Linked DNA regions of Homo sapiens: region 2 is linked to region 1. The links are contacts of gene promoters, found by promoter capture Hi-C in human tissues and cell types (Jung and others, 2019). All regions are on one chromosome and are shown on one strand. Each heading gives the region's core, a stretch centred on a gene start or on the middle of the fragment in contact. The rest is flanking DNA. Distances are from core to core; before and after follow the strand shown.

Region 1 (6,613 bases), core at 1,150-3,649:
CCTCCAACTACAGGTCCCTGCACCCCTGAGCTCCTGGCCAGCTAGGATGCCATTAGCAATGCACGGCCATTGAATTCCATCACTGCTTCCTATGTATTGACGCCATCCCTAAGTAGATTAGAAACTCAATGGTGGGACTGTGACTTGAAATTCTTTGGCACTCCAGCCCAGAGTGGCAGGTGGGCCCAAATGGCACTCTCCGCCCAGTACTTGGGTCACAGGCTGAGGGGTAATCCTCACCAACAGGAGCCCCCTAAAGCTCCTCCTGCCTGTGTGAATGGGGTGGGGGAGGGTGGCCAGACTGGGTCGGGGCGGGGCTCCTATCCTGCCTCCCACCAGGGCCTGGCTCCTCCTTCAGCTCTCCCTGGCCAGGCCAGGGAGGGAGGGCAGAGCAGGTGGGGAAATGGCTGGGAGGTGTAACTCGAGCCCAGGAGGAATTCCCTGCCCTTCCTCTATGCTTTTATTAAAGTAGGGCGGGGAAGGGCAAGCTTCCATCGGAAAAATCTCCCAGGCAGCCCGGAGAGGTGGGAAAGCCGCCGTGGGCCAGGGAGGGAGCACCAGCTGAGCTGCAAATAGAAACGGCGCTCAGGCCCGCAGCCCGGGCAGCCCAAGGGCACCAAGGCCTGAGCACCGTTCAGAAGCGGCTCCGGGGTGGTTCTTTCTCCCTACTCCCCGCCCAAGTCCTCTCCCCGCCTATCTGGGGCAGGGCGCAGGTCTTAGAAGTCGGGGAAGAGTGGACCCTGCTCTTGCTCTGGGGCAAGAAAGCTGGCGCCTTCGGTGTCCTCGCTCGGGAGACACCATGGAGCTGGGGCGCTGGCTGGACTCGGCTCTACGCCGGGATGTCGCGCCTGGTCACCCGCGGGACCCATCCAGAGCGGGGCCCCGGGAGGGACGCCAAGCGGGCTCCTAGCGAAGAGAGGCGCGGGGTCCACCCTCTCGAATCCAGGGCTTCGACGTAGGGGCGCTGTTGGGAGGAAGCGCTGTGGGAGGCAGGGTCCGTCCTTAGGACCCCGCCCGGGCGTGCCTAGGCTTCCTCGCAAAAGCGCAGAAAGTCGCCAAAGCGCCCCCGCAACCCGAGTCCGCTGCCTCAGCCGTTTGCACCCATCCCCCCGCCTCCATCCTGGCCCGCCGTGCGCGGCTCGGTATCACCCAGACGGGAGGCCACCTGGGCAGGAGCGCAGTTGCCCAGCCGCCCAGCTCTTGCTCCGCCTGTGGCTGTCCCCGAGAGCAGCCCCCTCCCCACTCGCAAAGAGCGCCACTGCGCGCCAGCCGGGCTCTCGAGGAATCGGCTGCCCTGGAGGGAAGGAAGGAGGGGAGGCAAGGGCTGGGGGCGGCGGAAGCGGCTCCCGGGACACAGGCTGAATGTAAGGGGGTCGGGGTGGGGGCTCAGTGCCCAGAACAGGGCTGTAGGAGTAGCGGGGAGGAGAGCGAGGCCCTGCGCCCTCAAGGGTTTGCGAAGAGGTGCGCTGCAGAGGGCGAGCTGGGGAGGGGCAGACTGCCAAGTCCGCTTGCTTCCCCGCCACGGCCCAGAACAGGGGGCGCGTCTCCGCTCCCTCCACCTCCAAGTCCCAGCCTGCGGACGTGGCGCCTCTCCCTCCAAGCCCCCAGCCCGCAGCCAAAGGGCAGGGCGGGGGTCTTACCTCGGCATGGACCTCCGCGTCTTCGGCCGCTACGCCAAGGCCCAGGCAGCCCAGAAGCACCAGGAGCAGCGGCAGCAGTCGCGGCCGCGCCGCCTCCTCCCGGTCGCCGAGGAGGCTGCCCGTCCAGCCCGGCCGTCCGGGCGCGCTCGGGTCGCTGCCCATGCTCTCGGCGCCCAGCCCAGCTCGGAACACTGCACGCCGGATCCTCGCACGCGCCTTGGAAACTTGCGACGCTCCCTGGCTCCTGGCCCGGCAGGCGCGCCGCGGACCTCGGGCTCCCGGTCCCCGCCGGAGCCGCCTAGGTCGCCTCGGCAAATTCCCAAGCCCGAGGAGAAGCGGGCAGGGCAGGTCCGGGAGCTCGGAACCAGCCGGCGGGAAAGGGGGCCGACCGGAGCTGCCCCCGGCGAGGTTCCGCAGCCTCGGCGCCCAGCGCCTGGGGCCCGGCTCCCGAGAGCAAGCGCAACTCCGGAGCCTTTGTCTGGCTCAGCGCTCCGGCCGCCCGGTCCCGCGGCGCTCCCTGCGCGCCCAGCTCCCTCTGTCCATGCCCGGGGCCGGGCGCTGCCCGGAGCGCGCGCCTCCTGCACGGGGATTCTGCTCGCCGCCGCGCCCGACCGGGCCCGGGTCCCCAAGCAGTCCCGGGAGGAGGCGCAGGGAGCCGACCCGAGAGAGCGAGCGAGAGAGCAAGCGAGCCAGCCAAGGAGCGGGCGCCCGACGTCCCCGGCGAGTTCAGCGCGGCTCCGGGCGCTCCCAGCCCTCCTCCCCGCGCGCCGCGGCCGCCGCGCTCTTAAAGGGCCAGTGTGCTCCCAATGCGCGGACCCGGGCGGGGACCGGGGGCGGTGCCCCAGCCGCAGGCTTCTCACAAGCAGGTGCGGGCGGCCGAGGCCCGACAGGTGGGCGGTCCGTTTACGCTTCCCAGACGGCAGGAAACCTCTCCAGCCCACCCCGCGTCACTCCCAACCCAGCGCCTAGGGGGCGGGGGTGACCTCCAACGCGACCCCCCGCGGAGGGAGGAGGCAGGGAAGGCGTGGTCTCCCCGCCTGGGAAGAATGAAGACTCCTCCTTCTCATACCTGGTGGGGGATACCGAGGCCTAGGCGGACGGGAAGGAGGTCTTAGGGGAGGGATCAAAGAGTCGTTTTAGGCTTAAATATAAATATATATGTATATATGGATATTTGTCAGCCTGAAACCTCTTTTCAAAAGCCGCAGGGTGTCTCTGGCCATTGAATAACTTTCCTCAGTAGCAAAGTGAGGGTTTTGTGCGCGTCGAGGGCGCGTTGCGGCGGACAAGGGGCAGGTTTAGGAGGGACACGGTTCAAGTTCCGCGTCCGCCCCTTAGCTGCCGCTTGCACGTGGGCAAATTAATCTCTCCGAGCCTCCATGTTCTTATCGGGAACGTGGGGCAAAGAGTTGGGGTGAGGGCGAGGTAAGACTTCCGGCTCCTGGCCTGGCGCAATAGGTGCCCAAGCACTTTGGCCACTGGCTGGTGCGAGTGAAGTGCGACAGTGCGGCCGGAGTCGGCGCGGGGCGGGTGGACACACCTCCCCGCGAAGCTTAACGAGCTGGATTTCATTCTATTCCGGAAGCAGCTTGAGGTCGGGGCGGGGTGGATGCAGGAGGCCAGAGCTGGGAGGCCCGGGTCGAAGGTCCACCGAGACCCGGGGACCAGGCCAAGGGCAGCCCTGGCGCGGCGGACTGGCCGGCGTGGTCAGTGGGTGAGGGTTGCAGGCAGGAGGGCGGAGACCGAAGATAAGCTGTTCCTTATCTTCAGACCCGGAAATGGAAGCCGTCCTCACCTGAGGGCGGTTTTCTCTAGAGCAGGCCCTCGGGGCACCCTAGCCGGCCTCACCTCCCGGAAACTGGAAATCAGGAGACCTGGCAGAGTGCCTTAGAGAGGGCGCGTTTGAACCCTCCTGGGATGTCCTTGGGGAAAGGAAGTCGGAGTTTAGAGAAAGGAACCGGGCGATTCTATCATTTCCACGGACTCACTTCTCTGTGGGATCCTTCATCTGGGAAGTTGGTTTCTAAATTCTCCACTTCGAAATTTGCTTTTGGGAAATGTGCAGTGGTCTTCAGACACGGACAACGGGGTTGTCCTTGTTTAACCGACCACGTCGCACTCTTTCATGATATTTAGTCCCGATTAGCCAATTTTAAAAAGTTTGGGGCTAGGTAAAGTGGCTCAAGCCTGTAATCCCAGCACTTTGGGAGACCGAAGTGGGAGGATTGCTTTAGCCCAGGAGTTCAAGACCAGCCTGGGCAACATGACAAGACCCCATCTGTACAAAGAATACAAAAATTAGCCAGGTGTGGTGGTGTACGTCTGTAGGCCCAGCTACTTGGGAGGCTGAGTTGGGAGGATCACTTGAACCCAGGAGGTTGAGGATGCAGTGAGCTATGATCATGCCGCTGCCCTTCAACCCGGCTGTCAGAGCGAGACACTGTCTCAGAAAAAAAGAAAAAAAAAGTTGGGGTTTAAGGGGCTAGCTGTTAGTGAGAGGAGCCCAGGAATGAGTGGAGCAACGTTCTTTGAGGCCTGGGTCGGTCAAGTCTGGTGATTTTCTCTCTGTTGGAGGTTCCTCTCTTGGGGTCCAATCCTGCCTTAAGGAAATGACATCCCCTGTGACCAGATCTTGAAGCTCCCAATTATTGGTTCTGGCTCCTATAGGTACTTTGGGAGTCCAAGGTGGATTTGCATCTACATCCAACCCAAGATAGCTGGGTTTCTACTGGGTCTGGACAGCACCCAAAGCCCGAAAGGACTAGTCAGTGGGACTGAGATGTGTGAACTGCAGCCCTTCCATCAAGTAGCTTTAAACCTTATCCATATTTTGCCAATACCGTTTCATCTATGCCCTGACACCCCCGCCCACCACCACACACCTTTTTTTTCTTGGTCTTTTGAATGAAAGCCCAGACATGGTGTTTCAGAGCAGTTTCATTTAGAGGTCCCGATGTGGTGTGAGGGATTGTAAAAAGCTCTGGATCAGAAGCCAGGTCCCTGGGTTTTTGCCTCAGCTGTAATTTACTGGGCAATCCGAGCAAGTTATTCCCCTCTTTGGGTTTGTTTCCTCATTTGCAAAAGGAGAGTTCTGAGGTCGTAGGGGAGGTCTCCTGTTCAGTGAAGGAAAGTAGCTGTGGGATGGAACTAGGCCCAGGACACCCCCTCCCCCAGCTCTCCCCTCCAGGGGCCCCTCGGGCGATGCACCCACCCGACCCACCATCAAAGGTGAAGCAGGCCTTGGGACTCTTCGTGCCAAGACAAGGAATAAACAAACAAGCCAAGGTAATTTCCCTCTCCCTTGGAAACAAAGCTGGGGTGGTCTGGAGAGGCGCTGGAGAGTGCCAGGTGGAAATCAGCCAAACAGGCGTGAGATGATTTCCCTGCCCTGCGGGGAACATCTGAGGACACCGAGGCCAGATGTGTTGATTTTGTACTCTCCCTGGTGCGATAAAATCCTCATCAAGAGCATTTCTTTGGGCCAGCCTCCCTGGGGGGGACCGCAGCCTTCTCTGGTCTTCCCTCTGTCTCCAGAATTGTCTCCCATGTTTCTCCTCTTATGGAGAATCTCCTGTTATGGAAGAGCCCCGGCTGCTTCTGCACTGTCAGCGGGAGCGCTCGCTCAACGGGCTTACTCTGCTCCAGAGGCACACTCAGTGTCTGGGTGCCCGCCAAGCTCCTGCCGCCAGCCTCCTCCTCAGGCCCAGCCTGCCCACCCCTCCCCCTCAGCGAGACTCCTGCTTCCTTCCTCCATTGCCACCTTCCATTCTCCATTGAGGAGCCAGTTATTGATCTTGGCCCATTTCTCAAAGTTGCTGCACTCAAATTCCATCCTCAGCACAGACAGACTCCCCAGCCACATCCTCCCCCAGGGGAATGGCCCAGTCCCTCTTCCTGGGCTTGTTGATGGAGGCCCTACCTCACACCTGCCCCCCTCCCAATAGGAGCCAGTACCCAAGTCTGGGGAAGTACCATGTTGAGGATGGGGATTCTTCTCTGTGCTCCCTGCCTGCTCAGCCCTGCTGTGAGCACCCAGAGGGTAGACCTAGTCTGGTTCACCAAGTGCCCAGTTCAGGGCCTGGCACAGGGCAGGTGTCAGTTAAGTGCAGGCTGCACAGCCGGAGTTGCCATGTTGCTTGCAAGCCAGAAAGTATGCCCGGCATCCTCCTCCTCTCCAGAAGAACCAGACTAATGATGAGTCGGAGTCAGCAGATCAATGCGGTGGGGAGCAGGAACAAGGCACAGAATGTGCCTGTGTCTTTCAGTGCAGTGGCTGGGAGGCTGCCCCTTTCAGGAAAGGTGGGGTTGCAGGGGCCACCATGGGAGCCTGGGCAACAGGCCCCTCTCCCCACACCTTTCCCTGAAGCCCTATGTCCCCACCCAGATGCCAGGCCTGACCACGAGGTGGTGTGCAGGGCTGGATCAGGGCCACCCCAGCACAGGACCTGAGGTTAGGGCTGAGTACGGCCCTATTTCTCATGCAAGCAAGTCACTTAACCTGTTCTTGTAACAGAGGACTAGACATTCCCACCCTGTTTACCTTTCAGGGGATACTGGGAGGAAGACACGAGAAGGTTCTGGGAAGTGCTCAGTGTCACAGCAGTATAAGGCTTCAATGTCTGCCTATGTGGGTGAGGGATGAGGGTGGTGACCCCTGCCACCTAGCTCCAGGCTAGATGTCCTATGTGAGAACTCTGTGTGTACACCTGGCAGGCTGGGTGACCCCTCCCTACCCTTATTTTACTGAAGCATCATTAATGCCTCTCGAGGCCATCTTGGAAGTCACAGCAGAGACTTCCAAGAATCCTCCCAAACTGTGAGACACAGCTGGACAGGGTAGGGGAAGGTGACAGTCATCTTTTCACTGGGTTAAATACAAGTAGTCCAAAAAAGATCCAAAATAAAAAATGCAATTTTTATTTGTTGAACATAATTTGAAACTGTAAAAAGATTTCTCTGTCCATCACCAGAAA
Region 2 (7,412 bases), core at 3,566-6,065, 220 kb after region 1:
TGGGGTTTAGCCATGTTGGCCAGGCTGGTCTCGAACTGCTGACCTCAGGTGATTGCCCGCCTCAGCCTCCCAAAGTGCTGGGATTACAGGCGTGAGCCACCACGTCCAGCCTCCTCCGTAGTTCTTTCTGCGGTGCTCATGATGAATGATTTCAGAGGGATTGGAAGATTGGAAGATGTGGATTCAAAAAAGCAGCTAATTGGGTCAGGATTACTTAATATGCGGCTCACTCCAGAATGAGTTTCTCCAACTTCAATAAATGTTCTGTTACCCAGAAGCATGAGAGGACACACTTTTCACAGCTGCAGGGCACTCCTTCCTGACCACATGGAAATAATTGCTAAGGAGCCTTCTCTTACTTCCTTTTGGTAGAAATTATCATTACTTTACATGGGAAGAAAGTCTGTTTGGGTACATTTCACGCACCTGTTCTTCCCTTCTGAATTCTATGGGATCTATGGATTTATTCAATGAACATGTCTGTGATACCAGGCCCTGAGCTGGGGTCAGCTGAGGATTTCCCTGTGATCAAGTAACGAAAGGGTCCTGTCCTGAAGGAGCAGATGGTATACACAGGAACGCCATCATGATCCAGGGTCGGGGATGCTGCAGGGGGTGAGTTGAGCCCGCCTGCTGGTGCCTGGGAGGGTCAAAGAAGGTGACCTCTAAACTTGAAGGAGGGACAAGCAGGTATGGAATTGGCCAGGTAAGGGTTAGTGGAGGCAGATGAGAATGGGGTGAAGGAGAGGGGCTTTCCAGGCAGGGAGGACAACATTTGCAAAGGCTCGGAGAAGACTTGATCTGAGGTTAAATCATTTAAAATGGGAAAATCATGTAAATCTTATCTGTGCTTTACTCTGGGTTGCTATGAGAATCAGATTAAACACAATCTGACTTTTCATTCCCCTTCTTTCCTTCCCTTTGGGGAGCAGAACTCTCAGGCTCTTGGCCACTTCTCTGACGAATGCCTGAGCAGTAAAGGGTTTCAGGCCCTCTGAACACAAAGATGGGTCAGGTGTGGTGGCTCATGCTTGTAATCCCAGCACTTTGGGAGGTTGAGGCGGGCAGATCACCTCAGGTCAGGAGTTCGCAAGCAGCCTGGCCAACGTGGCAAAACCCCGTCTCTACTAAAAATACAAAAATTAGGAGTTTGAAAGCAGCCTGGCCAACATGGCAAAACACCGTCTCTACTAAAAATACAAAAATTAGCTGGGCGTGGTGGCGCATGCCTGTAATCCCAGCCACTTGGGAGGCTGAGGCAGGAGAATTGCTTGAACCCAGGAGGCAGAGATTTCAGTGAGCCGAGATTGCGCCACTGCACTCCAGCCTGGGCAACAGAGTGAGACTCTGTCTCAAAAAAAAAAAAAAAAAAAAGTCTATGGGCATACCACCGTGAACACACCTGATCTTGTCTGAACACAAAGATGGCGCTGCTAGTCCCTGCCTGGGGATGGGGTGGATGTGGGCGTGGAATTGCAGTGTTCTGGACACTGTCTTCTGTCTGGCCCTCCCTGAGACAGCTGTGCCTCTGCCAGAGTTCGGCAGGAAGGGTCAAGGCTAAGGCTGAACCCAAGAGTCCTCCCTCAAGGGTTTAGGACTTCAGTGTTGGAATGGCCAGGTTTCAGCAAAACTTGCACCTTTCCCGGGGCCAGGAGAGTTGGCAGCCTCCTATGCAAATCATCAGCGAAGTTTCTGGGTTAGAAATGACCTTGGAGTTGGTACGTAGTTCCTGATGACATTGTACATTCTTAAATTCCAACAACTGGGATGGGCATGGTATGGTGGCTCATGCAAATAATCCCAGCACTTTGGGAGGCTGAAGCAGGATGATCGCTTGAGGCTAAGATTCTGAGACCAACCAGGGCGACAGAGCTAGACCCCGACTCCACACAATATTCTTTTTAAAAAACTGAGTCATGCTGGGCACGGTGGCTCATGCCTGCAATCCCAACATTTTGGGAGGCCGAGGCAGGGGGATCACTTGAGGTCAGGAGTTCGAAACCAGCCTGTCCAACATGGTGAAACCCTGTCTCTACCAAAAATATAAAAAATTAGCTGGGTGTGGTGGTGTGCGCCTGTAATCCCACTGCACTCCAGCTTGGGTGACAGAGCGAGCCCCCGTCTCAAAAAAAAAAAAAAAAATTGAGTCAGGCACAGTGATTCACATCTTCACATCTGTAATCCCAGGACTTTGGAAAGCCAAGGTAGAAGGATCCCTTGAGCCCAGGAGTTTGAGACCAGCCTGGGCAACATAGTGAGACACCCCCATCTCTACTTAAAAAAAAAAAAAATTAGCTAGGCACACTGGTGTGTGCCTGTAGTCCCAGCTACTCAGGAGGCTCAGGTGGGAGGATCACTTGATCCCAGGAGTTCGGGGCTATAGTGAGCTATGATTGCATCACTGCACTCCAGCCTGGGCAACAGATCAAGATCTTGTCTCAAAAATGCAACAACCATGAAACAAGTAGTTTTTACGTTTCAAATCGGAGTTTTGCTAGAATTCCAAAAATACAACCTCCTTACACTTCAATTTCCTTTTTCCTTCGCTGGTGCTTTGATCTTAATAAGTTGTTATACCCATATGCATCTGATAGTACTGTGTGAGTACCTATTGGAGTCATAGCTCTATCACACACTGCATTTGTGAACAAACTTTCTGAGGCTCAGTTTCCTTTCCTGAAACACGGGTGTCCTGAAACAGTACTGGTGTTCATAGGGTGTTCAGGGTTAAATGGGATTTTGTTTATAAAGAGCTTAGTGCTGTGCCTGACACAGTGTTAGCTTCAATAATGGCATCTATTATGTACACAGGAAAAAAAAAGACTTCTAAAGTGTTGGCAGCATTTATCTCCAGTGTGTGGGATATGGTTACAATGAACATCTATTACTTTTGTAATCAAAGCAAAAGAACAATAAATGTTATTATTAATTTAAAAATCTGGCTTTGGCTTTGGTGGGAAGGACCTACAGTTAATGTCAATGTACTCAATCCCTGAGTAAGAAAAAGTCTCCAGTTTTGAACCAGGACTTTAAAGACATTCTGTCCTCCCCATCCCCCGCCCCATCAACTCATAGGGACTATAATCAAGGGAGATAGATACTAAATCAGAATTCTAGAGACATTTTGCCTTCATCCACCCTTGCGGTCCCCTGGATCACTGCTGTTTGGAGGGCAGGCAGAGGAATTCAGAGATCATAACTCCCCAAATAAGGCTTTCTCTCCCATTGGAAGGGTTCTCCAGTGTGGTGTTCAGCTGGAAATCTAACTCTCTAGGGAATGATTCCAGGAGCGTTACATTCACCCTCTATCAGGCCTTCACTGAGGAATCTCAGTTGTCAAATAAAGCATGCACTAGGCTGCTTCCAGCTGGGGGACTGTGACTGTCCTGCTCTGGCGTCCAGAACAATCTGAGGCCCAGGCCCTTGGCTCCGTCGCTGGTCGAGATTCTTGACTGGCAGCCCAGCGCCTGGGCGGCAGCAGGAGATAGAACCCACCTGGAGTTGCCCGACCCCCTCCAGTCCTCTCCTTGATCTTCTTGGGCCATCCCCTGACAAGCAGGAAGGGACAGAGTACCCGCCCTCCTGGGATTATCTGCAGAACCGTCAGCCTGCATGGGCTGGCTTCAGAGTGACTTGCTTTCTCCTCTTCCGCACCCGGGGGTGTGGAGAGTGAGGGAGAATATTGCTGCTGGCTCTGGAATAAAATGCTGCCTCTGTTTGGGAGACAAAGAACAGAGTGGCTCCTCCAGGTCAGCTGTCTCTCCCGGCTGGCAGGCCCCTGGCCTCCCCCAGGCCTCTTCTGAGGCTCTAGGTGCCCCAGTAGCAGGGCCTTCTGCAGCAAGGCCGGGAACTGCTGCACCATTGGTGTGTTTTACCTTAAGGGACTCCAGGCAGCTTCCTTGCTGGGAAGATATTCATTTGCTGGGGTGGGGCTGGGGGTGCAGAGGTAGGAAGTGCTGTGGCTAGAAGGCGGCCTGGCCAGCGAGTAGGTGGTGGAGCGAGTGAGAGCGTGTGCGCTGTAAACAGTGTGAGTGCATGTGCGCCAGCGCGTGCAAGGACACGGTAAGGGATGTACATGTATTGTCTCGTGAGTAAGAGCTTGTGTGTGTGTTGGGATGGGAAGACACGTACTGGTATGAGAGCCCGCGTGAGAAGTGTATGTGTGAGTACTCGCGTGGAAGTTTTGCACTCGGGTTTGAGGCTGTGCAAAAGTACGCATGGCTCACCAGGTGTGGGGCTGTGTGGGCTGCCTCGTGTGTGCCAGCCCGTGTGCAGGCCTGTTTTGTGAGAGCCTTCAGGGAACGCATGAGCACGTGTGCCAGTGCGAGTGCGGGACGCGGGGAGGCGGGAGAGACCGAGTGGGAGGCCCCGCGAAGGAGTGGGAGTGGGAGTGGGAGTGCCGGCGGGAGACCTGCGGGGGCGCGCCCGGGCTGACGCGTGCGCGCCAGTGCGCGTGAGTGCGGGCGCGCGCCGCCGCCCCCCGCCGGGGTCGGAGCCGGTTGCCATGGGAACGCGCCGCGGCCCGAGTTAATCATTTCCTGTGGAAAGTGTGCGGGAGGGGCGCGAGCGGGCTGGCCGAGGAGGAGGCGGCGGCGTGGAGCTGCCTCCTGCCGGCGGGCCGGGCCGGGCCGAGCCCCGGGCGCTGCGGCGACGCCTGGATCCTGCCTCCGCCAGGCCGGTGAGTGGGGGGCCCGGGCGGGCTGGGTGCGAGCGGGGCGCTGGGCTCTGCCCGGCCCGCCGTTTGGGGCGCCGCGTCCGGGCCGGCCCTGCCCTCGGGACCCCTCTGCCCGGACCCGCTATGGGCGCGGGGAGGGAAAGGCCCGGGAGACCCAGCCCTGCGAGGTCCCCTCCAGCGCCGTTCAGCCCGAGTCGAGGACCTTGCTGGGAGCTGGGCACAGGGGCGGCGTGTCCCACGGGATCCGAGCAGCCTCGGGACCCCGTTTGGATTTTATTGAACGAGAAGAGCGCAGACCCTACCCGGGATGGGCTTGTCAATCGGCGCCGCCCTCTCCCCTTCCTGGCGTCTTCCCCACCCCCAGGGCTCCCTGGAAGGCTGCCTTTGGGTCCCTCCCACCACGTCCCTTGGGGAGTTCGCTTTTTCCCTGGCAGGGCCTGGGGCGGGGTGCGCCCGCCCAGAGGTTAGGAAGAAGGGCCTTGGCCGGTGCCCTCCGGGCAGTGAGGAATCGGGCCATTGACAGCCGCAGCAGTTGTGAGGGTCTCAGCAGGGAGGGCGATCCCAGGACCACCCCTTTAAGCCCAGCATTGCTAGTTAGAGCAGAACTCTGGCTGGTGCAGTGAAGGGCCTGGTCCTGGGAGATATTAAAGAGGAAGCTGTGTTTAATTAAATTCTGGAGTACCATTTACTGCCACCCAGCCCCCACCTCCATACCCCAACACTGTCTCAAGATTGCGGGTTGTGGCCACCCCTGGTCTTTCACCTTCCCCGGCTTTTCCTCTGCCTGAACAGGGTGAGCACCCATTCTTTCCCAGACGTGTATTCCCCATGCCCTTGTTAGAGTAGCCGTCTCCTTGACCAGGGAGAGTCATTTGCTAGGAATGCAGTCTCAGAATGGGGCCCTGCATTTGCAGTGAGTGGACTTTAGGGGCACAGGGTGGTGAGTTCTGCTGTTCACAGGGGCACCAGGGAGCAGAGGGTTTGAAATCTAGGTTGCCCTGGAAAGCCCAGGATAGATGATGGTGTGCAGGGAGGTGGCATTCCCTGTACAACTTCCTTGACCTTCTGCCTGCTCTCCCAGGGCGACCAAGCCCTGCTTGCTGCAGTCTCTGAGCAGCTGTCCAGCCTGTCCCCCCAGTCTTTGCAATGTCCCTGATCTAGGGCAGGGGGAGTATTGCAGCTCTGCTGTCCTGGTCTAAACCCAGAGAGGCAGAGACCCTCTTCCCCAGCCAGGCCCTCTGCATTCACCCACCACTGGAGCAAAGTAACTGAAAAATAAAATTTTGGAGCTCTTTGTATATGCCAGTATTGTTCTGAACACTTGGCCTTGTCTAATCTTTAGAGCAACCCTATAAGGTGGTGTTCTCCCCATTTTATAGATGGAGATAATGAAGTACGGAGAGGCAAAGTAATTCTCCCAAGGTCAGACATCTAGTAAACAGGGGAGCCAGGTTCTGAACCAGTCCCACTGCCCTCCCCCACGAATCCTAGGTTGGTAGAAGTCCCCGGACACCAGGTTTCATCTCAGATGCCCATGTAAATGAGAGAGAGTCCTGCTTTCTTGGCCCAGAACCCTGGGCTTAAGATTCCTTGATACTTTTGACCTTCACACCCCTGAGGCTGCTAAATTCAGCTGCTTTTTCCTCTTCGGGATCTAGCACACGCCCTTCCTCTTTCTTCCCGATATCTTCCTGGCTGCCTCCTCCACTTCCCTTCCTGATAACCGCAGAAACGCTATCTCCTCCTGTCCCTGCCCCTCAGACTGAGCTGAGCTGATCTCCCTGAAAGTCTTCTCTGTCCACTGTGGAGTCAGCCTCCAATGCCCTGCACTGTCTCACCTTCCCAGCAGCCGAGACTGCAGATGGACCTGCCTTGCTCCTTCCCTTGCCCATTGGACAGCTGGTCTGCAGGGTTGGTTGTGTGCCCAGCTCTGTGCCAGGCAGCCTGGAGAAGAGGACATTTGGCTGCTCCCCTTGGTTTCTTCCACGCCACACTGGTCCATCTCAGTTTCCTCAGTGGAGCTGGCCCACGTATTTAGATCAGCCTCTGCCCTGTCCTTTGGCCCACATTCCCATCCCCTTCCCAGTAAGACTGAACCTAGGAGCCTCCTAGTTGTTCTAAGTCAAGGAAGGAAGAGACCATGGCTTCCTCGCCAGGTGCCTGGCATTCTTCCAGGGTTGGGCTCTGCAAACATCAGACACCAGATCTTCAGGCCCCTAACCCCTGGACCCTTTACTTTATTATTTATTTATTTATTTATTTTTGCCTCTCAATGCTTTAGTCACTCCTGTCTCTCTGTCTCCCCAATATGCTCAACTCTCCCCCTATTCTAGACACCACATCCTCTCCTTCCCATCCTAGCCAAACACCCCCAAGGAGAAGGAAGTGGCTGCTTCCTCCCCCAGCTCCCGCCCCACTCTTTGAGCCCTCCGAAGTTTGCCATCTGCCCTTCTCCCTCCACAGGCTCAGGCTTTCTGCCTGTCTGGGCTTTCAGTCCTCCACGTCTCTTTGGCATGATGCACTGGGCACTGACCAACCTCTCCTTCCCACTTACACTTCAGTCACTTCTGAAAACTCTATACTTGCCTGGAGCTCCTGTCCCTCTCTCAGCTTCCTTCTGCAGCTTTCCACCCCGCAGTGAGCCCTGTTATCACATGGCTGTCTCCTCTTGCTCAAGCTTTGATGATTGCCTCCTCACCTGTGGCGTTGGTGGCCCTGTTTAGCTCTGAGTCTGTGT

Evidence for each region. The method cuts DNA at HindIII sites, captures the fragments that hold promoters and counts their contacts. A contact is called where the count stands out against the background at its distance.
Region 2: a fragment that was not itself captured here is called in contact with the fragment with the promoter of MMP15 in region 1 in 1 of the 25 tissues and cell types used here (H1 embryonic stem cells).

The regions. Positions count from the first base shown.
Region 1 is chr16:58,021,540-58,028,152 of GRCh38, reverse strand. MMP15 (matrix metallopeptidase 15) reads right to left here and starts at 2,399. Exons shown (of 10, transcript NM_002428.4): 1 at 1,641-2,399. The coding sequence starts at 1,802. USB1 (U6 snRNA biogenesis phosphodiesterase 1) reads right to left here. Exons shown (of 7, transcript NM_024598.4): 7 at 6,535-6,613. RefSeq lists enhancers at 735-1,284, 1,835-2,384, 2,617-3,202, 3,203-3,790 and a silencer at 2,251-2,390. The HindIII fragment of the contact is 8,795 bases long and covers 1-6,050 here.
Region 2 is chr16:57,799,636-57,807,047 of GRCh38, reverse strand. It overlaps KIFC3 (kinesin family member C3), which reads left to right and starts at 4,557. Exons shown (of 20, transcript NM_001130100.2): 1 at 4,557-4,678. RefSeq lists enhancers at 3,584-4,260, 4,938-5,614. The HindIII fragment of the contact is 7,020 bases long and covers 1,306-7,412 here.